Linked DNA regions of Homo sapiens: region 1 is linked to region 2. Evidence: promoter capture Hi-C in human tissues and cell types (Jung and others, 2019). All regions are on one chromosome and are shown on one strand. The core of a region is centred on a gene start or on the middle of the fragment in contact, and the rest is flanking DNA. Distances in the headings are between cores, read along the strand shown.

Region 1 (3,336 bases), core at 64-2,563, 170 kb after region 2:
GGCCTCTGTGGCCTGGCTGGTTAATGAGTGTTTCAGATGCACAGAACACCTACCCCACCCTGCCTGTCGCCAGCCTTGCAGGTGCCGCGGACTCCCCATGCAGCCAGCCCCAACGCTCCCCGACCCCTGAACGTGTGGCTGTCATTCCCAGGCATGTCTTTGGTTCTTTTCAGCAGGAGTATGTTCCTGACCATTCAAGCTGCTGTTTTGCTTACTTAGGTTTTTTGTTTTGTTTTGTTTTTTTGAGAGACAATGTCTCACGCTGTCACCCAGGCTGGAGTGCGGAGGCATGATCTGGGCTCACTGCAACCTCAATCTCCTGGGCCCAAGCCATCCTTCTGCCTCAGCCCCCTAAAGTAGCTGGGACTACGGGCACGTGCCTCCACGCCCGGCTAATTTTTTTGTATTTTTAGTAGAGACGGGGTTTCGCCATGTTGCCCAGGCTTGTCTGAAACTCCTGGACTCAAGCGCTCCGCCTGCCTCAGCCTCCTAAAGTGCTGGGATTACAGGCGTGAGCCACCATGCCCGGCCTCCTACTTAGGTTTTTATGTAAATATCATCTTATTCAACGGATCCTTCTGCAGCTTGCTTTGTTGGCTGAGTGGCGTGTTTTGAGGTTTTGAGGTTCGGGCTTGTTGCTAACTGTGGCGGCGATTGGTCATCTGAGGTCTTCACTAATGATAAATCATGGCGCGTGAACATGCGTGGAGGCACCTGGCCATGCCCATGTCCGAGGAGTCCTCTAGGAGGACTTGGAGAAAGGGCCCTGCCATGCACTGGTGACTATACCAGCACACACTCCCCACAGGGGCCGAGTGGTCCTGTTGCTTCTGTCTGTCTTATCCTTGCCTGTGTTGAAGCCTACTCCCTAGGACCCAGACCCCCCAGCAGGGCCCCAGGACATTGTTGGAAGTCGCCCTCAGGTTCTGAGCCCCTCCCTTCTGTACTGTGGGGGTCATCCCGGGAGTCCTCTCCTGGAGCTCTGTGCCTGGGGAGGTACGTCCAGCATGGCATGGATGGCGGGCTTCCATAGGGGCCTTTCCTGGCTTGTTCTTTTCTGGGAGAAACCTGAGCCGACTGCCACCTTCCTCGGGTGTGTTTTGGGTAAAGTCTTGAGGCCAGAAAGATCTTGCATCCCTCAAGCACTCTTGAGCTGGTGCTGAACCAGGGCACAGGCAGGTCCCGCGGCGGAGTCTTGAGCTCTGCCTCCTTCGCACTGTACTGAGCTGAGTGTGAGGATGGTGCCAGCCCAGGCCCTGCAGTTTCTGGAGCCCTCGATGTTCATTGTCTCGCGTGAGCCTCACAGCTGCGTGGCAAAGTCAGTTTACTGGGCAGAGCACATTTTCCCATTTCACAGAGGAGGAAACAGGCTCAGAGAAGTTAATCCGTTGGTCCAGAGTCACACAGTAAGACCTGGAGCCCAGACTCCATCTCCTGCCTCCTGTTTGGACCCTGAGGGTTCGGGGTTGGCTGCCTGCTCCTGGAACCCCCACCCAGTGTCAGAAGCTCCTGGTCCAGGCAGTAGCAGGCTGCCTGCTCCCGGCCCAGCGGAGGCCTGTACAGAGCGTGATGGGCCCTGTGTCTGTTGCAGGTGCACTGTGAAGAGTTCATCCCCGAGTTTGAGAAGCAATACCCAGAATTTCCCTGGACGGACGTCCAGGTAATTCCTGTCCTGCACACCATCGCAGGCCGGTGGGGCGGGTCCCGGGCTGGGGGCCTGCAGGAGCTGCTCCCTTCCCTCTCTGCTGGCATGGGCTGGGAGGGACCTTTGTCCCCTGCAGTTGGTCATTCTCCCCAGAGGCTGGCAAGACAGCGTGGGCTCCCCTCCCTTCCACCCTGGGCATTTGTGGGTGCTCCTGAGAGGGAGGGAGCTGGAGGGGCATGTGGGGCACCCCTGGGACAGCCAGAGGGTGGCGGCACTGCCTGACCCTAGATTCCCAGTCATATGGAGACGTTGGCTGGGCCTCCATGTCCAGCAGCGGCATTCTGGGTGCTGTGTTGAGCTCCTTGGGGCAGTGGGGAGCAACGGGGTCTGCGGCAGGAGATGGGCAGATTTGCAGAAGGTGGGCGTCAGGAGTAAGAGGGCAGGTGCTGGGCGGAGGTGGCCATGGTGAGGTCTAGAGACGTGAAGATGTGGGAGGGGGTGACTTGGGCCACGTGGGGCCCGGGACTTGGGCAGGGGCAGCAGACCCCCTCTTGAGAGGCTGTTCTGAGCAGGCCTCGTAACTCAGGCTCCCCGGTCCCCAGGCTGAGATCTTCCGGGCCTTCACGGAGCTGTTCCAGGTGGCCTGTGCCAAGCCACCACCCCTGGGCCTCTGCGACTACCCCTCATCCCGGGCCATGTATGCCGTCGACCTCATGCTGAAGTGGGACAACGGCCCAGATGGTAAGAGGGGCTCCCCATCTCCTGATCCAAACCAGCAGGCGCCCCCTCCGCCAGCCAGCCACAGCCTGGAGAAGGCAGGCAGCTGCCCCAGGCTGTCCTCTGGCTTGAATCAGCCAGGAATCTGGGTTGGGGAAAGCCCTGGCTTGGCCCACAGGAAGTGCCTGCGGTGCAGAGTCTGGAGGGGAAAGGCTGCGGGTTGGGCCTCTGAGTCGGGGGAGAGCTCACAGGACAGGAGACCCGTGTGAAAGGCACCCTGACCCCAACCCACACCACCCTGGCTGGCCTTCCCTGTGCCAGACCCCCACACAGTACACTGCTGCTGCATATCTACTTTTTTTTTTTTTTACTAAACTGAACATCCAAGCTTAAAGGGCCAGGCTGTCATCCCTAGGGCTGGAGGCAGCCCTGGCCTCTCCTAGAGAAGCAGATGTCAGGCCAGGCCTCCCCAGCAAAGTCAAGAGACCCAAGTTCTAGGCCCGGCCTTGTCCTGCTCATCCCCTGGGAATCAGGGCCCAGGTTCATGGCCTCCCAGCCTTTGCTGGATCCCCAGGCCACTGTCCCTGCAGAGTGGAGGCCAACGAGCCTTCACACTCTGCTGCGCTCTTTGCCATCAGGAAGGCGGGTGATGCAGCCGCAGATCCTGGAGGTGAACTTCAACCCCGACTGTGAGCGAGCCTGCAGGTACCACCCCACCTTCTTCAACGACGTCTTCAGCACCTTGTTTCTGGACCAGCCCGGTGGCTGCCACGTTACCTGCCTTGTCTAGGCACTCGCTGTCCCCAAAACCTGTGCTTGGGGCAGGATTCCAACCTCAGTTCTCTGAGCTGCTTCTGCAAAGGCCCCCATGTCCCTCCCCACACCGGCCCTGGGCATAGCCTCAGCCCCAGGCCTCTGTCCTGCCGAGCCATCCTCCCGGCGCCACACTCCGGGAGCACAGCATCCTCCTCTCA
Region 2 (3,151 bases), core at 451-2,950:
CTGGAAGAACCTCCCCCACCACCTCACACTGCTTGCCCTGTTGCCCAATGCACAAGATAATATGTGGTTCTGAGGGAACTCCCCACCCCCTGCAGAAACTCAAAGCTACACAATTGACGGGGACAAAATAAAGCCTGTCAACAGCATCTCCCAAATTAAACCAGCAGCCAGGAGCAGCCGTGCAGACCGAAATGTCTGGAGCAATGGGGTGGGGGCTCAGTGGAGACAACAGGCAGCGCTTCCTTCTTCTTTGGGCATCTCTGGACCCCCCACACCCCCGATCCCCATGTAGGGGACCCCTTGCCTCAGCCACCAGGCCCGTGCCACAAGCTGATGTGAAGTCAGATGGGGTGTGAGAGCTGGCTGGACACAGATTTAACCTTCCAGGGCTGAGGAGCTCGTCTACGGTAGGTTGGATGAGGGCGTGAAGAAGCATGTGTGAGCGTGTGTGTGCTGGAGGGTGTGAGGGTGTGAGGCTGTGTCTGAGTGATTGCACGTGAGAGCATGTGTCTGCATGTGTGACTGTGTGTGTGTGTGTGTGTGTGTGTGTGTGTGTGTGTGTGCGTGTGTGTGTTGGGGGCAGGAAAGGGAGCTGGTGTGGAGGGGCTCAAACTGGTGCAGGCAGAGTGGACAAAAAGAGAAAAGAGTTGTCTTTGAGTTGGGCCTGGAGAGCAGGAGAAGAAAAAAGGAGCTCTTATTGGTGGTTGTCAAGGAGATGGGCCTTGGGGTTTGCTGAACTTTCGTCCCTTAAAGCGTCCTGCCTGGAACTGAGAGGGGCCATTTATTTCCAGCCGCCCGTCCCTCCCAGGCCCGGTGGGACCAGACCCGAAGCCAACCCTCGCCAGGCGTCAGGTGTAGACCCCAGGCCAGGCCAGAGCAGTTCCTGGGTCTTCGGACCGGGATGCCCGCCCTGCCCCTCCTCCTGGCCCCGCCCGGTCTGTCACAGGGGGAGGCCTCGGCCTCGCATTCCGGGCAGCGAACTTCGCCGGCCGAGGTTAGCCCCGTGCGGGGGCCTCCCGCGGGACCGACCGCCAAGCGGCATTGTCCGTCCCGGGCGCCCGCCCGGTTCCAGACGCAGGTCCTGCGGCCGCCCCGTGACAAGCACACTGACGGGCCACTGTCCTTTGACGAGTGCTAAAAAGTTCGTTTGTTTTGAACGTCAATTTTCAAGTGATCTTCACGAGGTTTCCCCTCCCGGTTCCTTCGCTGCTGCCTCGCCCGCACTCGGTCCCCAGTAGGTGCTCAAGAAACGTCCAGCAAACGGCAGCGCAGGCGAGTCTGCTCTGCGCGCTGGCGCGTTTCACTGCCCACGGATGGCGGGCGACCTCACGGGATCCCCGGTTCGCAGGATCCCCGCCCCCGAGGCTGCCTCTGGGCCGGGAGGGGTTACCCCAGAGGGGCGTCCACTCTCGACGGCGGGGGCCGGGGCGCCGCGGGCAGGGGAGGGCGCAGCCTCCAAGCAGCCCCAGCCTGGCCTAGACCCCGCGCCTAGCGAGCCGGCCGGCCAGGCCCACACCCCCCACCTGCCGCCCGCCCCAGGGGAAGGGTCCCCCCGACGACGCCCGAGCCCCCCTCTTCCTCGGAGGGCCGGAGGCCGGCGCCCATTGGCCGGCCCTGGGCGACGCCCCGCCCCTCCGACGCCACGGGCCAATGAGCGCGCGCTGTCAGCTCATCAGCCGGGCTGGCTGGGCGGCTCGGGAGCCCGAGCGGTGGCGGAGCGGCGAGCAGCGAGCAGCGCCTGCGGGAGCGGCCGGTCGGTCGGGTCCCCGCGCCCCGCACGCCCGCACGCCCAGCGGGGCCCGCATTGAGCATGGGCGCGGCGGCCGTGCGCTGGCACTTGTGCGTGCTGCTGGCCCTGGGCACACGCGGGCGGCTGGCCGGGGGCAGCGGGCTCCCAGGTAAGCCCCCGACCGAGGTGGGGGGCGGCGGGCGCGGGGGGCTCGGGCGGCCGAGGCGCGGTCCCGGAGGGCTTCTTCCCCGCGGATCCCGAGCTCGCCCCGCGCGGCCCCGCGCCCCCTGCCTCTTTGCAAAGTAACTTCTAGGGCCGGCCCGGGGCGCCCCCTCCCCGCAGCCCGGGCGGCCGGGGCTCCTGAGTCCGGCGGGGCCGCACCAGGGGTGGGTGGGCCGGGGCCCCGGGAGGGGAAGCGCGAGCGCGGGAGCGAGGAAGAAAGGCGGCGGTTCCCGGGGACCCCGCGTGCGGACCTGGGCGGGGCGGGACCCCGAGCGCAGAGGGGCGCTCCTCCTGGGAGAGGGGGCGCGGGGCGGGGCGGGCGGAGGGGGACACGCCAGGAGGTGGACGGGGAAAGGGACGGACCGAGAGACCGGGACGGGGCGGGAGGTGCGGGACAGACGGACAGAAGAGCCGGCGCCGAGGGAGCAGACAAAAGGAAGCCCGGAGAAAAGACAGATGCGGAAGGGTAGAGAGGAGGCCCGCACCGCCCGGGGAAGGAGGAGGAGGCCGGTGGATCAGGGGGAATCAAGAGGGATGGTCCCACCGATGATAAGGGAGAGAGAGAGGAGGAGACGGGGGACAGATGGACGCCGCAGAAAAACGGGGTTGGGGGGGGCGGTGAGAGGGAGACCGGGAAAGAGAGAGGGACAGAGATACCTGGAAAGCCGCAGACGAGGGACCGGGACCGTCTGACAGGACGGGGAGGAAAGACAGAGGGAAGGAAGGCAGAGGATCCGGAGGACAGACACAGGGAGGAGAGTCCGGACGCGGGACGTCGGTGGAGCAGACCCAGGAAGGGGAGGGGGAGACCCGGAGGCCACAGGCCCAGGCCCGTGGGTTTCACGGGGACCCCCCCACCCTCCCACCCGGTCCCCTCCTGCTCTCTGTCTTCAGGGGCTTCCCGAAAAGCTGGAGTCACATTCTCCCCTCCTCGTCATCAGAGGCGCTTCCTCCGGTGCTCTGCTTGGAGGGGGAGGCAGGGGGAGGGTCCTGCACGTCCTTCCCGGCTTCCTGAGGTCTGGTATGGGTGGCGTAGGGTCTATTCCTGGTGGTCCCGCGTGCCCCGAGTGAGGATGCTGGGCCTGTGAGACTCTTCCACAGCAACACCCCTCCTGGAAGCCCAGCCCTGCTGCCCCATCATCCCCCTTGTGTCTGTGGGTGTCTCTCCCAAGCTTTGGGGTCCCTCACCTCTGAGTGACT

Evidence for each region. The method cuts DNA at HindIII sites, captures the fragments that hold promoters and counts their contacts. A contact is called where the count stands out against the background at its distance.
Region 1: a contact is called between a fragment that was not itself captured here and the fragment with the promoter of SCUBE1 in region 2, in 1 of the 25 tissues and cell types used here (mesendoderm cells).

Annotation. Positions count from the first base shown.
Region 1 is chr22:43,167,824-43,171,159 of GRCh38, reverse strand. It overlaps TTLL12 (tubulin tyrosine ligase like 12), which reads left to right. Exons shown (of 14, transcript NM_015140.4): 12 at 1,592-1,660; 13 at 2,248-2,386; 14 at 3,001-3,336. The coding sequence ends at 3,152. Among named protein-coding and RNA genes, the nearest start is that of TTLL12, 18 kb to the left of the region's middle. RefSeq lists enhancers at 1,240-2,095, 2,096-2,952. The HindIII fragment of the contact is 9,757 bases long and covers 1-3,336 here.
Region 2 is chr22:43,341,921-43,345,071 of GRCh38, reverse strand. SCUBE1 (signal peptide, CUB domain and EGF like domain containing 1) reads left to right here and starts at 1,700. Exons shown (of 22, transcript NM_173050.5): 1 at 1,700-1,898. The coding sequence starts at 1,811. The HindIII fragment of the contact is 4,801 bases long and covers 1-3,151 here.